Regions from separate parts of the Homo sapiens genome. Here regions 1, 3 and 4 are each linked to region 2. The links are contacts of gene promoters, found by promoter capture Hi-C in human tissues and cell types (Jung and others, 2019). All regions are on one chromosome and are shown on one strand. The core of a region is centred on a gene start or on the middle of the fragment in contact, and the rest is flanking DNA. Distances in the headings are between cores, read along the strand shown. Region 1 overlaps LYAR (Ly1 antibody reactive). Region 2 holds the start of STX18 (syntaxin 18). Region 3 overlaps LOC101928306 (a long non-coding RNA gene). Region 4 has its middle 31 kb from the start of MSX1.

Evidence for each region. The method cuts DNA at HindIII sites, captures the fragments that hold promoters and counts their contacts. A contact is called where the count stands out against the background at its distance.
Region 1: a fragment that was not itself captured here is called in contact with the fragment with the promoter of STX18 in region 2 in 1 of the 25 tissues and cell types used here (dorsolateral prefrontal cortex).
Region 3: a fragment that was not itself captured here is called in contact with the fragment with the promoter of STX18 in region 2 in 1 of the 25 tissues and cell types used here (bladder).
Region 4: a contact is called between a fragment that was not itself captured here and the fragment with the promoter of STX18 in region 2, in 1 of the 25 tissues and cell types used here (heart left ventricle).

Annotation. Positions count from the first base shown.
Region 1 is chr4:4,281,403-4,288,237 of GRCh38, reverse strand. It overlaps LYAR (Ly1 antibody reactive), which reads left to right. Exons shown (of 10, transcript NM_017816.3): 2 at 1,666-1,719; 3 at 4,443-4,617; 4 at 6,341-6,455. The coding sequence starts at 4,496. Among named protein-coding and RNA genes, the nearest start is that of LYAR, 5.3 kb to the left of the region's middle. RefSeq lists an enhancer at 1-135. The HindIII fragment of the contact is 5,768 bases long and covers 632-6,399 here.
Region 2 is chr4:4,537,560-4,544,462 of GRCh38, reverse strand. STX18 (syntaxin 18) reads left to right here and starts at 2,415. Exons shown (of 11, transcript NM_016930.4): 1 at 2,415-2,666. The coding sequence starts at 2,499. It overlaps LOC124900165, which reads right to left and starts at 2,332. Exons shown (of 6, transcript XM_047416490.1): 1 at 1,988-2,332. It overlaps STX18-AS1 (STX18 antisense RNA 1 (head to head)), which reads right to left and starts at 2,332. Exons shown (of 6, transcript NR_037888.1): 1 at 1,988-2,332. RefSeq lists enhancers at 2,247-2,541, 2,266-2,545. The HindIII fragment of the contact is 5,470 bases long and covers 1-2,908 here.
Region 3 is chr4:4,929,301-4,936,236 of GRCh38, reverse strand. LOC101928306 (a long non-coding RNA gene) reads right to left here. Exons shown (of 3, transcript NR_125893.1): 2 at 2,292-2,417. Among named protein-coding and RNA genes, the nearest start is that of MSX1, 73 kb to the right of the region's middle. The HindIII fragment of the contact is 4,312 bases long and covers 1,829-6,140 here.
Region 4 is chr4:4,887,539-4,894,103 of GRCh38, reverse strand. It overlaps the pseudogene LDHAP1. Among named protein-coding and RNA genes, the nearest start is that of MSX1, 31 kb to the right of the region's middle. RefSeq lists a silencer at 5,068-5,362. The HindIII fragment of the contact is 8,117 bases long and covers 160-6,565 here.

The sequences.
Region 1 (6,835 bases), core at 2,266-4,765, 260 kb after region 2:
GTCACAGAGAAACCTTTCTACAATTGGGCAGGGATGAAGCTTTCATATCTGGTGTCTTATTTAACTTTCCACCCAATGCTTTGAGTTAGGTATTAGATCCATTTTACAGATAAACAGATTCTGGGAAGTTAAGGTGCTTTGAGGTCATTTAGTTTTTAATGACTTTTTTGACATTAGCAGATGTAGGCTCCAGCTCAGATCCTCTACACCTGAGTCAGGGCCCTGTCCAACAAAAGCTGGCAACCATCTTGTTAAGAGAAGACTAACAAGTTCCCAGCCCCTTAGTGACCACTGGCTGCTGCCCCTCAGCTAGCTTTGCTGTCCAGACCCTGACAGCCTCTCCTGTGACATGGGTGGTCTCCTTGCCCACTGCACAGAGGTTTTATAATTAAGACTTAGGGTTCTAATATTTATACATGGAAAGTCATCTTATAGAGACCTTAATTTTTTTTCTCTTTGGATGAGGACCTCAAGGTCCCAGGTGCTGAGTAACCACCAAGCAAACGGCTAGGACATGGCAGGTCAAGATGGAGGCAGGGTGGGAGCCTGGGCTTGCTGCCTGGTCTTTCAGGCCACCTCTGCCACTTACTGTGACTTCGGGCAGTTCACTTACCCTCCTGAGCCTTAGGTTTTCTCTCCAGATGGAGGTAGTATGATCATAGCAGTCTTAGTGGTATTGGGGGCAGTTGTGTTCATAAATGGGACACGGCTTTGTAGAGAGCTAATGATCATGTGTTCTATGGTGCAGACCCCGTCATCTTTTTCATGGGTATGGCATGTGATGAGAGCTCAGTAAACTGACCATACAGACAGACGAAGACGCAGCCAGGAGCACACGCAGAGGACCTGCGTGAGGGCCCCAGGTGTATCTGGGTGGATAGGATAGTGTCAGCATTCAGGAAATGTCTGCCGAATTGAGTTAAAGTGACTGAGCAAGAACCGAAGTATGCTCTCAACCAGTCCAAGAACACTGCCTTCTGCCTGCCTTTCTCTTTTAACATGCGCATGTGGCCAGAAGGAAAGCATGTAGAATCTCTCTGGCTGCGCTGGGACTGGACATTGGGCAGAGGGAGTTGGGGAGCCAGGGAAGGAAAAGAGGACTCTATTTAGATCCAGCCCCATGAAAAAACTGCTGTCTTTTTACACTTAGGGCTAGATGTTGAAATCTGTCACATCTGAGCCCGGCAGACTGGGTGTCCTCAAAATCTTAATGCAGTTTTAAGCTTTCATAATTTCAGAAGCATAAATGATCCAAACTTGCCAAAACATCATTTAAAATTTAATTAAGGCCGGGCGCGGTGGCTCACGCCTGTAATCCCAGCACTTTGGGAGGCCGAGGCAGGCGGATCACGAGGTCAGGAGATTGAGACCATCCTGGCTAACACGGTGAAACCCCATCTATCTCTACTAAAAAATACAAAAAATAAGCTGGGCGTGGTGGCGGATGCCTGTAATCCCAGCTACTCGGGAGGCTGAGGCAAGAGAATGGCATGAACCCGGGAGGCGGAGCTTGCAGTGAGCCAAGAATGCACCACTGCACTCCAGCCTGGGCGACAAAGCGAGACTCCTTTCTCAAAAAAAAAAAAAAAAAGTTTAATTAAATTTCCTTCATGCTTATCTAGTCTTGTGGAATTTGAACAATACCGTTTTACTTTTTTGTTTTAGGCAATGTTTGCTGTCTTCCATTGGAGTGACTGAATTTCTACATGACGGCTTTTTGTAAGTTTGTAGTATTTACATTTTTGTTTTAGGCAATGTTTGCTGTCTTCCATTAGAGGGACTGAATTTCCACCTGACGGCTTTTTGTAAGTTTGTAGCATTTACGCTTACGAATATTAAGCCTGCACTAAGACCTGGGACACCCTGTCTGCTGTGCAGTTAGGCTGACTTTGAAGCTTCTGATGGTTTTGAGCTTTTCTTTGAAGCCCAAGCAAGTGTTTATGGCATAAATTACAGGTATTTTCGCCTGGGGCTAGGTTGGGTTTGAGGTGTAATCAAGGTGCTGGACTGTCCTCCAGGCTCTGAATAAAGGAGAGGTAAGCTCCTTACAGACATTAGCTCATTAGCCAAGCAAGTGGACACAGAGCTGTTCCCATTTCATGGCAAGTGTAAAAATCCGGAGGAAGGCAGGAAGAGACAGTTCTGACTTCCTGTGCAATCCACCCATTTGGCCTTAAACAAGTAAAGACCAAATGAAAATGATGTGAGAGTTATTTTTTAGCTGGACATGTAACCAGATTCTAATCACCTTCTGAATTGATATTTAATTACACTGTAGTGTGTAGCCGATCTCCAGAGAGATAGAATGTTTGGCACAGTTACTCTTGAGTATCTTTTTGTCAACATCACTGCTTTCACTGCTTCTTTCAGTCAATATATTTTGTTTCCAGCTTCCTTCCTAGGCCTTTAATTCCTGCTGGGACAGGAATCTCTCAATTCACTCTTAAGCCTTGTCGAAACCTTTCTTCCTCCCATCTCCCACTCCATCCAGAAATAGAATTGTCCTCAGCAACAGAGGTTGGCAAGCTCTAAGCCGTATCTAAGTTTCAGAGACTGTTTTTTGTTGTTGTATCTTATTAGAAAAGTGCTTTAACGTTTTTCAGCAGATAATTTGGCATATCACGGCTGCTTTCACCTTGTGCCTGTGATGACAATCTATTTCTTGGTGACTAATAAGTTATTCCTGCTCTTACACCAAAGTGCACCTCCATGCTCTTTGAGAATGTGATGTTGGCTCTTATTCCAGCCTTTGTTCTCCCTTGTCAGGCAGGATAGCTGCTCTTGTTGCCTGACATGTTGATCATCCCTCTGCCTTTTTTTAGAATGGTAAGCTTTGAGGGAGCTGGGTTGTGGGAAACGTGATTCCAGCTCCCAGGAGCTTGACAATATCACACATCTTTACAGTAAGCAGATGAGAAGATGACAGTTGCTGCAGCACATCGAGGGTAGTCATGTTTTCCTTCCTGAGGATTTGGTGCTAGGTTGTAGCTGACCACATGCTGTCCGTTTACTAACATACACTGATAGTGAGCTGAGGAGCGGGGCCTGGGACCGCGGAATCAGGGGTCTGTGGTTTGTATGTAGCGTAGAAGCTGAGCTGATGTCTGATAGTGTCCCACAGGGCAAGAGGCCTCCACAAGAGACCAGCTGGACCTTTGTGAACCCTGGAGATGCAGCCAGGATGTACATTTCCATTCAAGGCTGAATGGACATGAATAACCTTGGTCGTTGCTTGGGTGTGGCCTCACTGGCAGTGATCCAAAACATGCTGGTGGAGGAGCAACGGTGATTTCATGCATGGGAATTCTCTGCAAACCAAGGGTAGATCATTTGTACTGAAAGCTTGTTGGATGAAGTCCTACCCTGAAGTAAATTGCATCGGTTTACTTGACCCTCACCTTTATTTTCCTAATGAGGAAGAAAGCTCTGGGTTAAACAGTTCTCAGTATTTTTGCTGTAAAACTTATAATGTAAAACAACAATGCTGTTTTAAAATCTAGTGATTAAAAATTATGTAAGTATGGAAAATTACTGTGACTTCTCTAACACTTCTAGACGAATTTGTGTTTTCCTGAGCACGGTAGCATTTCTGTGAAATTTTACAATGATGTTTATGTGCGTGTGCAGACATACTTCTTTTTGGGGCAGTGCTCGGGACACCTGGGTTTGTGAACTCCAGTAATTCAGCACCCAGCAGTTGGGACACCTGGACTTGGTTCCGTTTCTTTCTGACTTGTCTGACAAGCTGCCACATGAAGAAGGCCCCTGTCCATTACAGCTGAGGCGCATGTCCTCATTTTAACCTTTGTAGATATATAGTAATATTGATATGAATGCTTTTAGTGCCATAGAAATTGTGCCCATAGAATTGCCTCTTCTTCACTTTCTAAACTTCACTCAGTTTTCCTCTTGCTGTGTTCTTAGTATATTTGAGGACCTGAAATAGTTTGTAGTGTACACCTAAATTGCAATGCCTTCTATAAGTTTCATATACAGAGAGAGAGTTTAAGGTATTATGGAAAGTAAGATTTAACACCCTCAAAGCTCTTCATCTTGAGAGCCAATCTGCCAGGTTTAAATCCTGGTTCTGTTAACCGTGTATCCTTGGGCAAGTTATGTAATCTCTGTGTCTCAGTTACCTCATATAAATTTTGAACAATAATAGTCCTTCCCTCATAGGGTTACTGCGGGGATTGAATAAGTGAATAAATGTAAAGCCTCTAGAATAGTGCCTGGCACGTGGTAAGGACACAATAAATGTTAGCCATTCTCATTGTTAATGTTAGTTTTACTTATATGAATGGTGGAATTTTATGTAGATTGCTAATCAACTTTGACTCTGTTATTTTCATGTGAAATTATGGTTGAAAAGTTAGGGGCATGAGCCATTTATTGAAATGAGAAGTTTCAGTTTATAATTATAATTGTCTTTTTTTCCTTAGGACAAGACTTAAAACCTGTCTTGGATAGAGAATATTTAGCCATTTACCTAAAAATGGTATTTTTTACATGCAATGCATGTGGTGAATCAGTGAAGAAAATACAAGTGGAAAAGCATGTGTCTGTTTGCAGAAACTGTGAATGCCTTTCTTGCATTGACTGCGGTAAAGATTTCTGGTAAGCTTCACAGAATTCATGTAGATCCATAGTAAATCCAGATCAGTTTTGGAAGCCTTGGCGCCACAAAGCTTGGAAAAATAGTGGCAAATTTGAAGAATGAAATTAAGACTAAAAACTGGTATGTTCCATTGATTAAAACTGGTGTGATTCTTTCAAATGTGCTTTACTAGGCCGGGCGCAGTGGCTCAGGCCTGTAATCCCAGCACTTTGGGAGGCCAAGGTGGGTGGCTCATGAGGTCAGGAGTTGAAGACCAGCCTGGCCAACATAGTGAAACCCTGTCTCTACTAAAAATACAAAAATTAGTCAGGCGTGGTGGTGGGCGCCTGTAATCCCAGCTACTCGGGAGGCTGAGGCAGGAGAATCGCTTGAACCCAGGAGGCAGAGGTTGCGGTGAGCCGAGATTTCACCACTGCACTCCAGCCTGGGCAACAGAGCAAGTTAACCCCTTCTTGGGGGGGAGAAATGTGCTTTACGAAACAATTTGCTTTTTGAGGATATGTTAAAGAAAAGACTAGGGGAAGGGGAATTATGATGATTAGAGTGTTCAGTCAGTTGGTGACACTGGTTGCTATTGCATTGCCACTGTTTACAGACCCAGGGAACTAACTGCGTGGAAGATGGCTCCAGGGGTTTAGAGCCAGTTTCATTAGACCATGGGTATCACATGCCCATCACAGTGGAGAGATGGACTTATGAACCAGAAAGTGAATTTATGAGCTCACAGTGGGGCAGATGACTGGTAGCAGAGGAAACTATGTCCTCCCTAGAAAATCAGAGGTGCTGGTGGAAGTGAGGCTCTTCCTGGCCCCACGGGTGTGTCAGGAGACACTTCCACTGAGGAGGCCTCTGTGAATGTGAGGAGTTAGCGGGGAGGGACAGGACAGATCCTGCCTTAGACACCGGTTCTTCAGGTGGGTCGTTTGCAGAGGGCTCCCCTCTTGAATTTCATGTTGATTCCCCTTCAGCCTCAGAAGGTCCAGGCGAGAAGCTGGCTTCTGGCTGCATCTGCCCCAGTGTCCTCTGAGGCATTCGGATGGTACTGGCTAATACTCTCTTTTAATTCATTCTGGAGCAGTGATTTTTTTTGGAAACTGCTAACCTCTGTTCAGACGTAATCCTAGGAGGAAGCTTGATATATAAAGTAGGTTAAAATTGAGTTTTCATTAGGGGACTTTGCCCTGGACCTTGTCCCCAACATTTCCCTGAAGAACCCCATAGAGCTTTACAAAGATTATATGAGAGAGAATTTAGTTTTCTTTTTTCTCAGGACCCTAAGGGATCCAGAACTGTTGGTAACCTCATGCTGCCATTTTATATCTGTTTTTGATTTATTCTACAACTAATTATTGACTGTCTATTAGACATTGAGATTTTTATAATTTAAAAAAACTACCCTATTGCATAGAACTATTTTCTTGTTTATTCAGTATATGTACACTTATGACTTAAAAAAATACTGCCTATCAATTTAGCTTAAGGTGTTTATAAAAATGGGGGAAAAGTTTGGTGATGGGTTTTATATTGACGACTTTGGAGGAAGGGGGATGTGGTTCTGACCAGGAGGCTGTAAACATAATAAGTGAAATAGATGGGGTGCTTGTGTGATAGACACATGTGAAAATATACAGTGTAGACCACAGAAGATAGTGGCAGCATGCTGGTATTAGCGCCTCCAACTTGGGTATCAGTCTAATGGCAGAACTTTTGATCACTTTAAAGGGGCGATGACTATAAAAACCACGTGAAATGCATAAGTGAAGATCAGAAGTATGGTGGCAAAGGCTATGAAGGTAAAACCCACAAAGGCGACATCAAACAGCAGGCGTGGATTCAGGTAACGTCTCTCTAACTCATTGAGTAGCTTCCTCTGACAGCTTCCGCTTTCTTTGGAAGCCCAAGAGACTAAGAGTAAATGTGTCATCCCTGCAGACAAGCTCTGGAAACCTCATGTCCTAGGATAGACAGGTTGAACTAAAACCTCTTGAAAAAGAATTCTTTGGCTGGGCATGGTGGCTCACGCCTGTAATCCCAGCACTTTGGGAGGCCAAGGCAGGCGAGTCACGAGGTCAGGAGTTCAAGACCTGCCTAGACAACGTGGTGAAACCCCATCTCTACTAAAAATACAAAAAATTAGCCGGGCATAGTGGCGGGTGCCTGTAATCCCAGCTACTCAGGAGGCTGAGGCAGGAGAATCGCTTGAAGCCAGGAGGCAGA
Region 2 (6,903 bases), core at 1,166-3,665:
CAAAATGTAAAAAGCACAACCCCATATCCCATGGTCTGTGGAAAGTTCAGCAGCCTCCTCAAGATCTTTGTGACTTATTTAGGAATTTTATGTACTTGTGGTCACTTGTGGATTTACAGCCTGATGTTTTGAGCTCACTTGGGTCTTATATCCACCACAATCTTCTCTGCTCTTGCAAATCCAGACAGAAAACTTAGATCTTTGTCCCTACCCTTCTACCCAAAATATCCAACTGCACCAAACACACGGTTTACACAAGGCACCACTCACTGAAGGCTTGGTGTAGTTCAGCCTCCCTCCCACTCAAAGATCCTTCCCAGTTACCTACTTTGTACTTTCCCGGCCCCCTCCCTGGGTTCTGGCTTCTCTTTTCTTCCCCCCAATTCAATCCCCCTCACTTTATTATGCAGGGCAATCTCTCTTTCCTTCTACTCTACCCCAGGCTTAACTTTGCATGGCCAAAAACTGATTAATGTCTGGATTAAACAAAGGGCCATTTATGCAAGATAGAATCATTGGCAGAGATTTTGTAATTTCTTTCTCTTTTCCTCAGTAGGTGGAAGAAAGCTGTATGGAAATTTATTTTCCTTAAACTGCAAGAAGTGGCTACAGTTTGGGTTTAAATAATCTTTTCCTGGCCGGGCGCGGTGGCTCACGCCTGTAATCCCAGCATTTTGGGAGGCTGAGGCAGGCGGATCACGAGGTCAGGAGATCGAGACCATCCTGGCTAACACGGTGAAACCCCATCTCTACTAAAAATACAAAAGAATTAGCCAGGCGTGGCGGTGGGCGCCTGTAGTCCCAGCTACTCGGGAGACTGAGGCAGGAGAATGGCGTGAACCCGGGAGGCGGAGCTTGCTCCAGCCTGGGCGACAGAGCAAGACTCCGCCTCAAAGAAAAAAAAAATCTTTTCCTTCCTCCTTTCTGGTAAATATATACTTTCTTGACATCTATTTCTGATAAACTTTATTTTTTTAACACAGTGGTTCTCAAACTTTTGGTCTCAACTCTTTTGCACACTTAAAAATTATTAAGGGCTCTAAACAATTTTGGTTTATATTGACATTATCGACATTTACTATATGAGAAATCAAAACAAAAACTTGATGTTTTTGAAAGTCTTTTTTTGGAGTCTGGCTTAATAGAAAACAGCTGTTCTGCATTTACTCCGTTGCAATATCACAGTCTCCAGCAAACTCAACTGTATGCAACTCATAAGAAAATCAGAGCGAAAAGGCAAATAACATCTTAGTATTGTGAAAATTTTATCTTGATGACCATTAAAACTGCTGTTTTAATACATATTCTACTTGTGCTTCCTCTTTATGAAAAAAGAAATCTTGAAGAAATCAATGAGATTTTGAATTAAAACTGAACCATAGGCCAGGCACGGTTGCACGTGCCTATAGTCCCAGCTACTCAGGAGGCTGAGTCCGGGAGGATCGTTTGAGCCCTGGCGTTCCAGCTGTAGTGAGCTAGGATGGCGCCTCTGACTAGCCACTGCAATCCAGCCTGGGCAACATAGTAGACCCCCGTCTCAAAAAACAACACAAAACAGAACATGAACCTAAAATGCAGAAGAAACTCATTGATTGAGTTGTCAATTTTAATAGCTATGGCTCAAGACGGTACAATTAAAAACTATGCATGAAGGATGAAGAGAATCCAGCGGCATTAGGGCCACTCTTTCACCTTTGTCTCCATCTAAACTTCCTATTCATCCTTCAAATCTCTGCACAGGTGACGCCTTTTCTCTAAAGCCTCTTCCTTTACCACAAATAACAGTGATTATAATAATAACATTATTAACGATTACTACCATTTATTGGCCACTTACTAGGAGCCAAGCAACATCAAAACACAGCACGCGTCAGCTCACTTAATTTTCACAGTAAACCCCGAGGAGGATGCTGGCTTCACTTTAAAAAGAGGTGACTGAAGGTTGGAGAAGAAAGGCCTCTGGCCTCTAGCTCTGTGCCTTGCACACCTGATCTGTCTCAGCATTTATTGCATCCCGAGGGTCACCGTCCACGTGCCTCTATCCTGCTCAAGGTGAGTTCTTGCAGTCAAAGGTCAAGGGTGGCTCGTCTCCACTTCCCCCGCAACCAAACCGCCCGGTCTCAGTGAGGGAGCCGCCAGAAGGGAAGGAGCCTCCTAGCTTCCCGGTCCTCACGCTCCCGGAGCCCACACGCCCCAAACAGACACAGAAGAGCTCGCTGAGCTCTCCGCGCAGCTAAACCCTCCAAGCTTTGCTGGGAGAAACCGATGCCCGAGAGCGCGTCGCGAGGTTCCTCCTCCGCCAGGTGCGCCGGCTGAGGCCGGAACCTTTTTCCTCCCGCCGCGGTAGCAGGGCGCAGGCCGGAACCTTTCTTCTCGCGTCGCCGTTGCCGGGGGGAGGCGTGTGGGGCAGGACCAGTCCTTCAGCGGCCGGGTTCGCGCCGCGGTCGCCGGCTGCTTACGTGGGCGGGCCTAGTGTGGGGCTGAGGGTGCGGGTCGCTATGGCGGTGGACATCACGCTGCTATTCCGGGCCAGCGTCAAGACCGTGAAGACGCGGAACAAGGCGCTGGGAGTGGCGGTGGGCGGCGGGGTCGATGGCAGCCGGGACGAGCTGTTCCGCCGGAGCCCCCGGCCCAAGGGCGACTTCTCCAGCCGGGCCCGCGAAGTGGTGAGCTGGTTGCTATGGAAACGGCGGGTTGAGGAGGGGGCAGTCCTGCGACAGGGACCCCGGGCCCCAAACCAGACCCCGTCCCGTAAGCATTGTGTGAAGGGGGTGGCTCTAAGGGGGACAGAAGAGTTGGCCTCAGAGACCCTACAGCTTTTTGGGGGAAGGAACAGCCTTATTTTGAGGAAGGGGGACGCATATTGGGGAACAGATTTCTCCTGCGGCGACAGGGATTGGGGGACAAGAAAGGAGATCCTCAGAAATCTCTATCTGGAAAGTGCATGGGCGGCTTTGTGAGGTCATGAGTTCGCCGTCACTACAGACTTGCACTCAGGGGAAACCTCCTGACAGTCCTTCGCTTCCTGTTGCAGCACTGACCACACCATATTTGCCTGTTCTATTTACTTGTCTGCCTCCCACCCCTAGTTGAGATTAAAAACTGTATTCAGCCGAACTCTTTCTTCCCTTTGTCTCTGCAATAAGTAGGACTCAGTTCCTCTTGAGACGGGTTTAGGGTAATCTTTCGCAAACACAGTGTTACAGTCACCTCAACTACTTTCTGTTCCCTGATCAGAGCAGGTGTCCCTTCATCTCCCTGGGAACAGGAACCTTTTCCTTAAGGGCAGGGACAGTGTTGTTTTCATCTCAGAATGCATGACTCATAGCATTGCTTAGTAAATGTTTGTTGAATGAGTGAATGAACAAATGGCTGTCTTTCCCATTAAACAGAAAACTCCATAAGGGGAGAGCTGTTTGTCTTGTTCCCTTTTGTGTTCGTGACACCAAGGAGGTATCTAGGTTTTGTGGGGCCTACAGCTTATATAGTTCTGTCTGCCCTCTTCAAGAAATAAAAATCACCAAGAAAGATTCAGAGCTTTGGAAGATTGAAGAGAGGGACCCTAAAGCTTAAGCCTCATTAATTTCACAGTAAATCCTTCTCTGCTTGGCATACACTTGGCACTGTATAGACACTCAGATATTTTTGAATGAATGTAGTCATGCATGCATTAATGACAGTTAGCAGAGGATACTTAAACATTAGAAAGGGGATTGGACCAGATGAATACACTCGCCCTATTGATGACCGTCTATGAAGCACCTACCTTCTGACCAGCCTCGTGTTAGAGTAATATGATGTAAAAGCAGTGGTGGAGTAGACGGACATAGACATAAAACAAGTGCCATAAAGCCTTGCAGGTGTTGTGTAGGGCACAAAAAGAATGTGGTCAGTTCTACCTGAGGACCAGAAAAGGCTTTATAGAGGCGATGATGCCTAAAACAAATCTTGAAAGAGGATTAGTTGGTTCCAGTGCAGAAGGACATCTCAGGCTAAGAGAATAGTATGCGCTAAGCTGTGGAGGTAGGTAACAGTCTGACATAAGTTGGTTCAATAAACATTTGAGTGAGACTGGAATGTGGGACTCTCATAAAAATTGGACGCGGAGATCTTAAAGGGCTTTGTGTATCATTGCAGAGTTTGAATTTTGCCCTGTAGATGGTCAGATGTTATCTGGTAGAGAAAGCACCAGAGAAGGAGCCAAGAGACGAGGTTGTTGTCTGAACCCTGCAACTATTAGCTATATGATTTCATTAAGCAAGTTTTAAGACCTCAGTTTATTTACCTGTAAATGGTCCTTTTTTTCTCCTCCTCCTTTTAAAAAACTACCTTGGTCCTCTATATGTAACAAATTAAAGTGGGAGCTTCCTAGGTTGAAATAAGAGGAAGAGAAACAGGACACTCTCCCTCCCAGTTTGGCCCAAGCACTTCTTGAGATTCCTTTTGTAGAACTGTGGTATGAATATCACAGTATTGGCTTTTTAAGGGTCCCTTCTAACTCTGAAACCACTGATTTATTAACACTGTGCTAATTTTGAGTCCTGCTCAGGGAAAGGGGGGATTTGGGAATGGTAGAGACAGGAGGCACAGTTGGGTTGGCAAGCCCTTTGGAGAGCCCTGTGATCACTTCCACCTCTCCCTGAGTGGTGAAAATGTGTTTGAGTTTTGAGTTAATGGGCCTCAGGGACAGTAACAGTCCCATAGGGTGCTGAGTTCCCTGTCACTGGAAGTGATTAAACAGAGTGATGACTGCTTTTCAGAGATGTTTGAGAAAAGCTTTGTGCATATGTCACAGGGTTGGACCGCATGACAATGCAACTTGCAGTTCTGCTATGTATTGATGTGAGTAGGTGTCACATCACCTTAAGTGAGTTCATGGGCTGTGTTGTTCAGGGACACTGTCCCCCTGACGTAGAGGAAACATACATTCTTTTAAGCAATTTTGATTTTATGTTGTCATTGCTTTGTGTATTATCTCCTGTTCTTGCAACCGTTCCCCACTCCCCATCTTCTCTTGTGGGAAGTTTAACTAGAAGAGCTAGTGATGGATGTCCTGTGCTTTTACTACAATTAGATGTCAAAAGTTTGGCTGTTATTTTGTTTGGCCTGGATTCCTTATAGAGAAAAGTCTGGTAAATACCAGAAGCACATATTCTAATTCAGGTTTAGCCCTGGTTGTCAGACTTAATGAAATGTAATAAGTTATAGTATGCCTTTTGGTAAGTGCCTTCCTTGAAGCATTTGCTGTTACTTCTAGGATGCGTTTTATCTGGTTCAATTTCTATTCTTCCATTCCATTCCTCAAATATATGCCTGATGCCAGATTTCCATCTCACTGAATTGTTGTAGAGGTTATATTAAGTTGAATAAAATTGCATTGAAACTGCAATTTTATTGCAGTCCCTACCTTCCAACAACAGGCTGATTGCTTCTGCATCATTCTTTTAAACATTTAACTTTTATGCTCAATTTTACTAAATTTATATATACTCAAATGCATGTCTACCCATTAAATTACAAATGGAGAGTAACGACTTTTCAGATTATTTGGGGGAGGAACTTATATTATTCGAACAACTCCAAATAATAATGAATATGTCACTCTGCAATGGGAATTTGATTAGTTAACTCATTTGAAGTGTGGGACTAGTGAGGATGATGGGATTGGAAAGAGACCTGGGCCTTGGGTTCAAATCTCGCTTCTGCTACTTAGAAATGGGTGAACTTGGGCAAGTCTGACTCTCGTTTTCCATTTCTATAAAGTGGACGTGATAATACCCTACTTAACTCACAAGCTAAGTAGGGTAGCTTCTGAGTTACCCTACTCACATAGTCTATATGTATGTATTTTAAAAAAACAGACTGATTATTATTGTTCCCCCAAACTACCTCCCCCCTCCTCATGTAGGCCATTTAGACATATTTTCTTTAGTGGCACCAAGCTGTATTTTCCAAACCACTTAGTTTTCTTGCACTTTCATTCCTTAATTTAGTTAAGTGCGTGAGGAATGAGTGAAAATCCTGAGCAGGTACTGATGAATCAGCGGTGGTGCAGAAGTACTGTCTGCATTCGTAAAAGATGGTAACATTTCTTTGCCAAGGTGAAACTCTTTCAGTGATGGCAGATGTGTGGCAGGTATGCAGCTTTTACTTTCTTTTCTTCCTTGTGATCATGGAAGCCAGTGCTAATTTCTTAGTGGATCCCTATAGCTCAGAATCCTTTGCAACATTGTACCCCAGGAGCCGTTACCTGTTATTAGGCTTGACATTCAAGTTGAAATCTACTTGACATATAGTAACAGTAGAATCTGTATGCTTAAAGCAGACCCATGTTTGTTTGTTTGTGGTTTTTTTTTTTTTCACTCAAAAGGACCTTGTGTTCATTTTGTTAATAGATAAGAAAACTAACACCCAAATAAATGAAATTACTTGCCCAAAGTCGTAGCAGTTGAGGTCATAGCACAGAGCCATAAGTAGAAGCCAGGTCCTTTGACCTGGTTTAATGCTGCTCTCCCTCTGCCCACTACATTCTCCTGTAATTTTTAAACCAGAATTTGTTTGGTTTCTGAATGGCAGTGAGTTTCTTCTTCTTGAGTTAATTCTGAATACTGCATACTGAATGGAACCTGGGGCAGAAAGACTTGGATTTGAATGTGTCTTATCTGTTATATGAACTTGGGGAAGCCACTTAATTTCAGTTACCTTATGGCTAAAATAGAGTGAGTAATAGCAACCTTATAAAGTTGTTAGGTGAAATAAGAAAAGGTATGCAGGTGCCTACATGAGTCCGAGTTCTTTTGTTTGCAAGTAATAGTAACCTAATGTAAATTAACCTGAACAAAGTGGGAATACCTTAGCTCATATAACTGGAAAATTCAGGGATAGAGCTTCTTTCTCTAGCTC
Region 3 (6,936 bases), core at 2,735-5,234, 390 kb before region 2:
ACAAGCGTGAGCCACCACACCCGGCCGAAGAAAGGCCCTTCAAGAATGAGAATTTGCTGACCAGGAAAAAAAAAGATGAGAAGTGCTTCAGCGGCAGAGGAAATAGCACATGCAAAGGCCCTGGGGTCTGAAAGCACTCTGCAAGCCCAGCTGGAACTCAGTGAGCGAGGTGGAGGTGGCACCACAGTTGCTCACATTTACTGGGCACATAGGAGGTGCCAGGCACTGTTCTATGGCTTCATAGGTCTTGACTCGGTTAATCCTTCCAAAAGCCCTGCCAGAAGTTTTGGTCACCATTTTACAGACAGAGAAGCTGAGACCCAGGGAGGTGAGGTGGCTAGCCCATGACCATCCAGATTCTCAGCGGCTGAGCCTGGGTTCCATCTAGGGCAGTCTTGCTCCAGGGCCCGTGACTAACCCACGGAGCTGCCTTCCTTAAGAGGGGCTATGGAGGCAGGTAGCAGGCCTGAGAGGCCATGCTAAGGAGGGATGTTTTCCTTTCAAACATCTCTTGCCTTTGCTTCTTAGCATTGACTCCTAATTCTCCTACTTGCTAAGTGGGTTGTCTTAGGCCAGTTACTCCACCGCCCTTTATTTCATTTCACAATTCTTTTTATCATGTTCCTGCTATGTGCCAGGCATGTGCGAGGAGCGGGGGAGACATGCAGTGGTGAGCAAAAGCAGGTGCGCACCTTGCCATCAAGGTCATTGCAGTCCACTTGAGGGAGAGCGTGTTAATCAAACAGTCTAATGGAGGTAAGGCCTGTGAGGGCATGATGCATAGTCCCGGAGAAGCTATATGAAAGGGGCCCCTTCTGGGCTATGAGTCAGGGAAAGCTTCCCTAAGGAAGTTGCACTCAAGCTGAGATTGGAAGGGTAGGCAGGAAATATCCAGGTAAAGTAAGAGGGTTGGGACTGGGCATGGTGGTCCACGCCTGTAATCCCAGCACTTTGGGAGTCCGAGGTGGGCGGATCACCTGAAGTCAGGAGTTTGAAACCAGCCCGGCCAACATGGTGAAACCCCATCTCTACTAAAAATACAAAAAAATTAGCTGGGCCTGGTGGTGCACACCTGTAGTCACAGCTACTTGGGAGGCTGAGACATGAGAGTTACCTGAACCCAGGAGGCAGAGGTTGCAGTGAACCTAGATCACACCATTGCACTCCAGGCTGGGCAACAGAGCAAGAGTCCCTCAAAAAAAAAAAAAAAAAAAAAAAAAGGAAGAGGGTTGGGATAAAAATGGGGCTGCCCAAGGCTGGGCGTGGTGGCTCACGCCTGTAATCCCAACACTTTGGGAGGCCAAGGCGGGCGGATCACGAGGTCAGGAGATCAAGACCATCCTGGCCAACATGGCGAAACCCGGTCTCTATTAAAAATACAAAAAGTAGCTGGGTGTGGTGGCGTGTGCCTGTAATCCCAGCTACTTGGGAGGCTGAGGCAGGAGAATTGCTTGAACCAGGGAGTCAGAGGTTGCAGTGAGCCGAGATTGCATCACTGTACTGCAGCCTGGTGACAGAGCGAGACTCTGCCTAAAAATAAATAAATAAATAATAAAAAGAAAAAGAAATGGGGCTGCCCAGGCACCCAGTTACATTTGAATTTTAAATAGACAACAAATAATGTTTAGCATAACATTATTATATTGCATGAGATGTGTTTATAATAAAATCTTACTCATTGTTTATCTGATATTCACATGTAACTGCACCTCCTGTTTTTGTTTATTCATTGAGTTTTGTTTGTGTATCTGGCAACCTGAGGTAGGAAGGGTATTCAGGACAGAGGGACTAGCATATGCAAAGTGATGATCATAGGACAAAGCACACTGTTAGAGAGAACCTGCAGGGAAACCAGTGTGACTGGGCACAGTAAGCCTCAGTTTCCTCACTTACAAGGTGGAAGTTGTAATAGTGCATAACTCACAGGAGTATATACGTAAAGTGTTTAGCATAGTGTTGGGGCAGAGTTATCACTCAATAAAGGTTAGATGCTATCATGCCTTATCCTTCACCTCCACCATCTTCATCTCCTCTTTTTCTACCAATTCCAACCAATTCTAGATCTTTCTGGACCCTTGCAATTGCCATCATTTAAAAAAAGAGTGGTCAGGTTCTCACCAAAATTATGATTTAAAAAGCCCTAGAAGTTGAAGATTTTGTTTGGTGTCAGCTTAAGCTATTTCTGAAAATGACTCTGCTAATAAATATATTATTATTAGTCCACTTGTGTTGCTGCAAAGGAATACCCAAAGCTGGGTAATTTATAAAGAAAAGAGGCTTATTTGACTCACAGTTCTGCCGGCTGTACAAGAAGCATGGCATCAGCATCTGCTTCTGGTGAGGGCTGCAGGCTTCTTCCGTTCATGTCAGAAGGCAAAAGGTAGCTGGTATGCAGAGATCACATGGTGAAGGGGTAGCTGAGAGAGAGATGGAAAGAGGTACTAGGCTCTTTTCAACAACCAGCTCTTGCAAGAATTAAGAATGAAAACTCACTTACTCCCACAAGAATGGCACCAAGCCATTCATGAGGGATCTACCCCCACAACCCAAACACCTCCCACAAGACCCCACTTTCAACACTGGGGATCAAATTCCAACATGAGACTTGGCAGGGCCAAATAAGCCATATCCAAAAGATAGCATATACTAACATAACGATTGGAAGACAATGACTCAGGAATGAAATTAGCTGCTACAGAGAAGCAGTATGCTACTCGGACATGGTGTCAGTTACCATAGCAGAAGCCCAAGTTAGACACTGACTTCTCCCTTACATATGCAGGCTAGCCAGGCAGCCCCCAAGGTATCAGGAACCCAAGCTTCTCCCAGGATGTTGTTCTGCCATCTCTATGATGTTGTTTTGTGGTCAGCCTCTGATAATTCGAATATCTGACATCTTTGTAGGTCTATTTCTATTGTCTTTTATTTCTGCTGGTTATTCACCATGGAGTCTTTTTTCTTTGTTTGCTTTTTTATTCAAGATTATCCCAGTTAAATAAATGAAGAAATTCTCCCAAAGAGTTCACCAACACATTTGTATTCCAACTAGCAGGAAGAGAAGAAATGGTGCTGGAGAGGGTATAAGGCTTCCCTTTAAGGGCATAACTCAGAGCTTGTATAAGTCACACTCATATCCTTTGGCCAAAACTTAGTCAAAGAGCCACAGTTGGCTGCAAAGAATGCTGCTAAATGTAGTCTTTACTTCAGGGGTGGCTGTGTGCTCAGCCAAAACGTCAGGCTTTTATTACCGTAGAAAGAGGGGAGAACAGATATCAGAACACACCAGCAGTGTGCCAACAGCCAAGGTGCAAAGTCACTTGAAATAGACTCGGCTGGCACATCTTTCCATCTGGGATCTTTTCTACCTACAAGGAATGAGGACCCAGGGGTCCTGGAACCAGGGAGGTTGGAAAGACAGGGATTCCGGGGAGTAGCAAAACATAGAAACAAATCTAGGGATAATTAGGACAAGGAGCTAAATGTGATGTTTAATGCCAGCCACAATGAAGAATAAGTTTTCTACTCTAGTTGCTCATAAATTCAAAACAGCTTCAAGGAAGGAGAAACAGCTTGAAAAACTTTTGTGAGCATATAAATATGGTGACAGAATATGTTATATATTATTTATACACATTGTATGTAGAGAGAGAGAAAGAGAGAGAGAGAGCGAGAAAGACAGAGAGACAAAGAGAAGTGACACCTCAACTAAAATTGGTCTTTATTTTATATCTGTATTTGTGTCTGCCGATTATTGAGCAGTTGAACATTGGTGTTGCTCTTTGTTTGTTTATTTATTTATTGTCTTGCTCTGTCACCCCAGGCTGGAGTGCAGTGGTGCGATCTCAACTCACTGCAACCTCTGCCTCCCGGGTTCAAGGGATTTTCCTGCCTCAGCCTCCCAAGTAGCTGGGATGACAGGCACCCACCACCATGCTCGGCCAATTTTTTTATTTTTGTTTTTAGTAGAGATGGGGTTTCACCATGTTGGCCAGGCTGGTCTCAAACTCCTGACCTCAGGTGATCCACCCGCCTTGGCCTCCCAAAGTGCTGGGATTACAGCATTTTGCTGAGCCACCGTGCCCAGCCTGGTGTTGCTCTTTAAATGAAAGCAAACTTGTGTGCAGTCTCCTCCCTCCTTCACTCCTCAAAGCTTTAGGACATCCCTGCTCTCCACCAGGCCTGGCCTGAAATCAGGGCCAGGATGCAGATGCTGCAAAGACTCCAGCTTCTCCCCCAGGAATATGTGTGCCCCTGGAAAGGCATAACCACTAGGCCTACCTATCGGTTCACAGAAGCACCACAGGGCTACAGGTATTCTGGAACCTTCTGCCATTGTGTATCAACAGTCAGGTGCTCCTGTCTTGATGGCCTGGTAAGAAAATACCCACTCTGGAGGAAGACAGTCCTAGGTTCAAATTCTTCTTCTGAAGCTTCCTATTCATGCGGCCTTATGGGAAAGAGCTTTGCCTTACATATGAGGCTGGTATGGTGTTGAGCAACAGTCTTGGGAACCAGGTGGACCTGGCTGTCATCTTGGCCCTGACTCCTCTAGGGTGACCAACTGTCCTAGTTTGCCCAGAATAGAAGGTTTCCAGAGATGCAGAAATTTCAGTGCTAAAACCACGACAGTCCCAAGCAAATTGGGACAGTTGATTGCCCTGCTACCAGACACATGCTCCAGGGCAAGTTACTTAATGCTCTGAGGCTCAATTTCCTTGCACATAAAAATGGGCCTAGTAATGTCTATCTTGCAGGAGAGCTATAGGGAATAGAAATAGTGCCTCGTGCAGAGTAATCATCAGAATTATTATTAATATTATTAACTTCTCCCCCTCACTGCCTGTGCACCTCTTTTATAATAGCCAGTGTCCCAATTTACCTGAAGGGTCCACATAGCTCCATCAGGCCATTATAAAGCAGCAAAAGTGAAGGGCTTTCTCCCTGATGCATTGTTTTTCTATGCAGGGGTCAAGGAAGCCTCCCAGCCTCCAGGGTTCCCCACATCTCTGGGCCTGAGTGAGCCCTCAGTGTCCCACAATTGCTGAGGCCTTGAGTCAGTTATAAACCTTCCCTCCAACCCCAAGACCATGTGGCTTTGTTCATTAAGGCTGTTGCTTGGCTCTGCAGCTCTGAGACAATGCCGAGTATGACTTTGTCCACCCTCACCTTGATTGCATTCACAAGTACTTCCTAAAATTAATTGCAAAGGAAAAAAAAACAACAAAAACAAAAACCAAAAACCAAAAATACACGTTGGTGTCTCTTTGTTGCAAGAAAAAAAATTCACTATTCATTCCAAGTAAAATTGCTTCATAACTCAATAATTTCATCCAGCCTCCCAGGCCCCCAGAAGGCACTGAAATACTTAGCACGTGGCTAAGTGCAGCACTCAGAGAAGGTGTGAATTTGCAAGAATGTGGAAGTTTCATCCAACTTTCTCAGTTTCATCACAAATGACTGCCTTCCTGCTTTCTAGGCCCAGCCCTCCAGACTTCAGAACAAGAAACAGGCACATTGACTGCAAACCCGAGACCTTTGTGAAGACAGGGAGGGTACTAAAGGAAAAATGCCAAAGCCTTTTGTTTTCTTTTTTTATTATTATTATACTTTAAGTTCTGGGATACATGTGCAGAACGTGCAGGTTACGTAGGTATACACTTGCCATAGTGGTTTGCTGCACCAATCAACCCATCATCTACATTAGGCATTTCTCCTAATGCTATCCCTCCCCTAGCCGCTCATCCCCCAACAAGCCCCAGTGTCTGATGTTCCCCTCCCTGTGTCCATGAGTTCTCATTGTTCAACTTCCACTTATGAGTGAGAACATGTGGTGTTGGTTTTCTGTTCCTGTGTTAGTTTGCATGAGAATCATGGTTTCCAGCTTCATTCATGTCCCTGCAAAGGACATGAACTCATCCTTTTTTATGGCTGCATAGTATTCCATGGTGTATATGTGCCACATTTTCTTTATCCAGTTAATCATTGATGGGCATTTGGGTTGGTTCCTAGTCTTTGCTATTGTGAATAGTGCTTCAATAAACATACGTGTGCATGTGTCTTTATAGTAAAATGATTTATAATCCTTTGAGTATATATCCAGTAATGAGGTTGCTGTTTCAAATGATATTTCTGGTTCTAGATCCTTGAGAAATCACCACACTGTCTTCCATAATGGCTGAACTAATTTACACTCTCTCACTGTGGTTTTGATTTGCATTTCTCTAATGACCAGTGATGATGAGCTTTTTTTCATGTTTGTTGGCCACATAAATGCCTTCTTTTGAGAAGTGACTGTTCATATCCTTTGCCTACTTTTTGATGGGGTTGTTTGCTTTTTCTTTTAAATTTGCTTAAGTTCCTTGTAGATTCCGGATATTAGCCCTTTGTCAGTTGGATAGATTGCAAAAATTTTCTCCCATTCTATAGGTTGCCTGTTCACTCATGCTAGTTTCTTTTGCTGTGCAGAAGCTCTTTAGTTTAATTAGATACGGTTTGTCAATTTTGGCTTTTGTTGCCATTGCTTTTGGTGTTTTAGACATGAGGTCTTTTCCCATGCCTATGTTTTGAATGGTATTACCTAGGGTTTCTACTAGGGTTTTTATGGTTTTAGGTCTTACATTTAAATCTGTAATCTATCTTGAGTTCATTTTTGTATAAGATGTTAGGAAGGGGTCCAGTTTCAGTTTTCTGCATATAGCTAGCCAGTTTTCCCAACACCATTTATTAAACAGAGAATCCTTTCCCCATTGCTTGTTTTTGTCAGGTTAGTCAAAGATCAGATGTTTTTAGATGTGTGGCATTATTTCTGCGGTATCTGTTCTGTTCCATTGGCCTCTATATTTGATTTAATACCAGTACTATGCTGTTTTGGTTACTGTAGCCTCATAGTATAGTTTGAAGTCAGGTAGTGTGATGCCTCCAGCTTTGTTCTTTTTG
Region 4 (6,565 bases), core at 2,969-5,468, 350 kb before region 2:
ATCTGATCTGTGATTAAAGCAGTAATATTAAGACAGACTTGGAAAAGCATCAATTCCTAAAGTTAGAAAGAGGCATGGTTTGTAAAATCCTACAGCTATATCCTGATGCTTCATGGTACTAATCTCGCATAGTCCTATAAGTCTACCACCTTTGAGGCACCACTGCCAATGCTGCAAATGCTGCAGTTACCCCTTGAGCCAGATGGATGTTTACTGTGTGTTATATAACTTCCTGGCTCCTTCACCGAACATGCCTAGTCCAACATTTTTTTCCAATCAGTCACATCTTAGGATCCAGTGTATAAATCCAATATTGCATGTCTTGTGCATAATTGTTCCAAAGGATCTTATTCTGTGGACGATATATATCAGTCGTACACATTGCCGTATAGTGCAAAAAGAAACATCTACATATAAACAATGCAACCAACTATCCAAGTGTCATACCAACTAAAACCCCCAATAAACCTTGAACAGTGAAAAAAAATAAAAATAAAACAACACAATAGATATTCTTATAGTTTTGTAGGTCAAATATCCAGCACGGGTCTAAATCAAGGTTCCAGCAGGACTATGTTCCTTTTTGGAGGCTCCAGGGGTCAATCTGTTTCCTTGCCTTTTCCAGCTTCCAGAAGTCACCTCCATTTTTTTGTTTATGACCTCCTCTTCCATATCAAAACCACCAATTGTGGGCCACAATCTTCTCAGGTTACAATGGGTCTGGTTCTCTCTCTTCTGCCTCCCCCCTCCACCTATAAGGACCCTGTCGATTACATCAGGCTACCGAGATCATCCCAGATGAGCTCCGCATCTCAGGGATGGCTGATGAGCAAGCTCAATTTCACCTGCTGCCCTAATTCCCCTTTGCCATGAACCTAATGTAGTCACAGGTCCAGGAGATCAGGAAGTGGACATCTTTGGGAGCCATTATTCTGCCTACCGCAGCATGTCACACCCACTGATAGCATTTTTAAAGTATTATCTCATTTAGTCATCAGAACAACCACGTAAAGTAGTACTGTCATCATCCCTATTTTGCAGATGGGGAAATGGGGTACATGGCGCTTATGTAATTTTCCCAAAGTCACATGGCTGATAGTGATTATATTTGAAACCAGAGAGTTTTGGTCTAAAACCCCCTCCTATAAACACTGCACCATGTTGTCTCATATGTAATGCCTACTACATGCCAGTCCTGTGCTCTTTTATAAACTATAATAAGCTAGCAGTTTCCTTAATTTAAAGAAACCCTTAACTTTCAAGTTTGCAACACAGAATCTCCATCAAGGAAGGGGTTTGGGACCTCACAGTCCCAATCCTCTTGACTTCATGGATGATGCTGGTTTCTGCTACCATGATCCACCTCTCTGGCCTAGGGGAGATGGGTTGTCCCCCTTAGACAGCCTCACAGAGCCAGATTAAGAACCAACAAGGCCAGGCATGATAGCTCATGCCTGTCATCCCAGCACTTTGGAAGGCAGAAGTGAGAGCATCAGTTGAGCCCAGGAGTTCAAGACCAGCCTGGGAAACAGTGAGACCTCACCTCTACAAAGATAAAAAAAACATTAGCCAGGCATGGTGGCATGAACCTGTGGTCTCAGCTAAGCTACGGTTGCCCCACTGCACTCCAGTCTCAGTATCAGAGCAAGACCCTGTCTATAAAAGGAAAGAGAGAAAAAAGAACCAACAGCTGAGCATGTCTCTGAAGCCATCTATGAGAGGGACCAGATCATTCCAGGGAGAGTAAGATGGAGGGAATTATATTTAGCAAAATTATCTCAAGGGCAGTGTGACAGGAAAGAATTCTTTGAGGGGCCTCCTGGATTGAAAAATAAGACCCCCAAAGGCAGGCTTGATGATCAACAGATGGTTGATCTAATCTTATTAGAGGGGCCTGAGTTAATTATAGTTTTATTTTATTCTGTAAAGCCTGCAAATTTGGGCCAGAGCAGAACTGTTCTGACAGCAAAAGAGATATAGAATCAGGGTTCCTACTTCCCCATATCTGCCACTCCTACCCCCAGATGAATATGAAGGCAACATTTAGGGAACATGAGTTTGGAGGACAAACTCTTTGCTTGCTCAGGGCCCCTACACATTTTCGCTGTCTTTACAGAGATTCTTCCCTTTAAAATCCCATAGCACAGTTGAGACATGAATAAAAGGTTCTATTTTATCAAGATTTTTTTCCCTAAAGTCCAAAATAAATATGGAGAGGAACATAAAACAGCATCATCTCAGCAGGCTATGTCATCCTGGCTTCTGACCTGCTCTGCTTACCATCTTAGCACCCACTGCCCGAAAGACCACCCTGCCAGACACACCTGCCCTTGAGGAATGATAATCTGTAGTGATTCATGCAAGTCCCCCGCTACCAGCCCAGGGCCCACCCTCCAAGATTCAGCTTCCCAGCTGAAGATACAGCTCTTCATTTGATTAACACTGGAAGGGCCTTTTAGAGATAATTAGGTAGTGGGGCTCAGAAACCCCTACAGGAAAACACCATCTCCACCTAGCCCCTCATTCATAAAAGACAAACACACACACACACACACACACACACCCTAGGAAGAAGAAGACCACAGAACACACACAGAATCCACACAGTAACTCCTCCGAATAACTCATCAAAATGAGTACCATTAGCTCTTTTTACAGAGCAGTAAACTGAGGCTCGGGAAACAACGTAATTTCTCCAACCCACGCAGTAACTAACGAAGCCACAGTTTGATTAAGCTTTCTCAGACTACAGAAACCACGCTGCCTCCCCATGATAAAGGAAAAAAATAAATAAATAAGTGCACACAACTGTTTTGGCATCAGTAACCCACACCCTTCTCATTTCACTACTTAATATTCAAATGCAGAGAATTTCCACACTGGAGAATCAAAAGCCCAGAGATTTTCCCTAGAAGGCCTCAGAGCTTGATTTTTCACAAATGGCCCCAAGGATGGAAAAAGTCTCCCAAATTGAGACTGGCAGGAGAGCGGGACCCATTTTGTCTGATTTTTCTTCTCTCCTTTCTTGGCATTAGCAGGCTTAGCTCGCGCCAGTGGAAAATTCCCAAGTGCCAAGCAGTTCTCAGATAATCTGCACGCAAAACAAAACAAAATTAAAAAAAAAAGAAAAGCCTTTCAACAGAGGCAGCTCATGAGGGGTTAAGGCGAGCCTGCAGCCAAAACATAGATTTTTTCAGATACTTGACGTCTTTTTCATGTTGATCAGGAGGTTTGTGCCCAGCCACAGCCTATAATGGCTTCAGTCCATCACTGAGACCGGTACTGGGTCAGACCAGAGCCTGCCTTTGGACTCAAGAGGGTCCCAGGTCCAGATAGTTTGACCTCTGCCAGGCTCAAGAGGGTCCCAGGTCCAGATAGTTTGACCTCTGCCAGGCCTGGGCCTGGAAATTCCCTGTGGGAAAGGACAGGAGCTGCCTGGGAGGGCTGAGGAAGAAGGATCTGTGCTGGGTTGGACTCAGGGATGACAGATAGATGGACAGAGGTGGAATTTGGAGAGGGTGAGAAAGAAAGAGAGAAATATTGACTGTCGAGGAGTCCCTATGTATATCCTAGAAGACAAAATCTAGTATAGAATGCTCTATTCATAAGACAAAAGATGTATTAATCCTATCAGAGTGCAATCATATTAACAATAACATTTGCATATAGTCATTTAGCCAATATTTATTAAGCACCTAAGCATCAGGCAAGAATTTGACAATGGGCAGAGTAGCCTGGGTGCCTGCTGGCAGAGAGCTTTCATCCTCACCGTGGAGACATGCAGTAAAATTGACAGTGACGTAGCAGACTTCAGTGCTATTGAAGGGGCCATGGGAGTGCACAAGACAGGGAAATCTGATGTTTATTTGGATTTGATGTTTTTACAAAACATGCTCCCCCACTGCAGTTCTTAATCTTTTAAAAAAAAAAAAAAAACCTTGTAAGGTAGGCATTACTGTGTTATCATCAGAGTCATCCCATGTTGGAGATGAGGAAACTGAGGCTCAGAGAAGTGGAGGAGCACACAGGGCAGCCCAGAAGCTAGGTGTGCCTGCCCTTACGTCTGAGATGCCCTCCTTCGGGACAGCGCCGGGCTCCTCTGCTCACCCGCTGAGGGCAGGTGGGCAGGGCCTGCCGCAGCTGGGGCTGGCTTACTCCTCGTTGTGAGGAAGCAACCTGCCTGCCATCCGCTCACTCAAGGGTCTTCTCAGCGAACTCAGTAGGTCTGAGAAACAGACATGGAAGACTGAGTCAGACCCACCAAGGTGTCCTCTGATCACCCCTGTTCCCCTTGCCTTCCCCAGGCTTAGCATTATAACAACCCTGCTTCCCAGGTCAGGAGATCCCTAGGTAGTTCATAAACACAGCCCAGTTCTGTGACACCTTATGCCAAAGACCTGTAACTCAACACAGGCTCTACCTTTGCCCACAGGCATGGGAAGATGCCTTTTCAGAGGGCACATCATTCTTCCCCTCCACTCCTTCAATCCTAGCCCCTGGGGCTAGCGACGGGCAGAATTCCTGGGGAAGAAGGACCACCTGAGATAGTACATCTTGGGGAAGGCTGCAATGACCTGTTCTCATTCCCTCTGCCCCAACAAGTTGTAAATCGGAGAGAGCTGAGTTCTAACCTGGCTTCACCATTTGTCTTAGCTCCAGCTGCTATAACAAAGTACCACAGTGGGTGGCTTATCCACAATGGATGCCTATTTCTCACAATTCTGGAGGCCGCCAGTCCAAGATCAAGGCTCCAGCATGGCCAAGGTCTGGCGAGGGCCCCCTTCTGGGTTGCAGAATCCTGACTTCTCCTTGGATCCTCACATGGTGGAAAGAGGGGACACTGGCTCTCTGGTCCCTTCTCATAAGGCACGAATTCCATCATGAGGGCTCAGCCCTCAACACCTCATCACCTCCCAAAGGCCTCACCTCCAAATGCTGTCACATAGGGGGTTAGATTTCAGCACATGAATTTGAGCTTGTTGGTGGGCTATGTAGGCATCTCTTGACCTGGGAACTGGGATTTTTATAATGTTGTGGATTTCAGCATATGAATATGGACAGGCACTTGACCCATAACCCCACCTTAAACCTGGGTGACCCTTGCTAGGATCTGTTACCCTTTGAGCCTTGGCTTTCCTACCTGTTCAGTGGCGACACCTGCTGCTAGTTGAGTGGCCCTGAGTCTGTGTCTGGTGCACGTGTCATGGGCTCAGCACAGGCTGCTGTTAGGGAGTTCCTTCCCTCCATCCTTGACAGCAAGGACCACCTCACTCCCTAGTCCCGGCACCCAGTGTCGGCCAGGCATAGAGGAGGCACAAGGAGCATTTCCTTTTGATTAAAGTTAGTTCATTTTATTCTGCCTTATTCTTTACCTTGGGGCTCTGTGGGAGGGGACCTACGTGGGATTTGGCCACATGGCCCCAGACCATGAATAGATCCATTAGGTTACATTTTCCAGTCTCAGAGATACATGCCCAAAGGAAACGAAAACCAGAGGTTGGAGTCAAGAGACCTAACTTCTAGCTTGGTTCAAATTCCAGCTTCATCACTTGCCAGCTTCATGAGTTTAGCAAGTCATTTGCTTTTTCTGGGCCTCTGTTTCTCAATCACAAGGTTGGGTCCCAAAGCACTACTCCTCCCTGACACTCCCAGAGGTCTCCCTAGTTCAAGAACAGGCCAGGAGACTCCCTCTGGGTCTGCTCTCCTCTATCCTCTATGTTGGGGGCCAATGCTGGTTTCAGAGCCGTGACTCTTCACCAGGACCGTGTAACCTGAAGCACATACAGAACCTCTTTTAAAATGCCCTGGGATGGAGACCAGGTAGCTTCTGGGATGGAAACCAGGTGGTTTCCACATACACCCTGCATTGAAAACTGCAGAGCCTGCAATAAATTAACCAAGCCTAAGCTGGAAAGAAACATCAGCCTGAGATTGCTGCCCTGGATCTTTAGAAACCAGGTCATAGTTCAGCAGGTATCCAGTTGGTCATGTGTGGGAGAATCCTGAGATGTTCTACACTCATACCTTTGTTGTGAAAACTTTTCCCAAATGCATCATTAGTTCCCTGAGGCTGCTGTGACCAATTAACCACAAGCTGGGTGTCTTTTAACATGGTAAATGTATTCTCTCACAGTTCCATCCCAGCCTTTGAGGGGAGTGACCACAAGTAAGCCACTTATGGCTAGATCCAGGAATAATAGCCCAGGAATGAGAGGTCCAGGGGCAGGAAATGAATGGGGAGCACACAGGCCTGGTGGGAAGGTCCTCATCACAGGCAGCGAGATGAGTACCACCCGTCCTCATGAGCCACCTCTCTGGTTTCCTCTCTGGAGGAATTGCCCCAAACAGGCTTTGGCTTCAGGAACACCAACACATCTGAAGGAGGTGTCCTGACACCTGGCTAATCCCAGAACATGTGGAGGAATTCTGCACTCACAATGGTGAGATATCTGGGCACCTTTCTCAACTTGGCTCCCAGAAACCTGGCAGCCAGGCTGTGCCCTTGCTGCCCTCCCCTGGGAAGAAACTGAAGGATCCCCCTCTAGGGAAACCCACTGGCATAAGG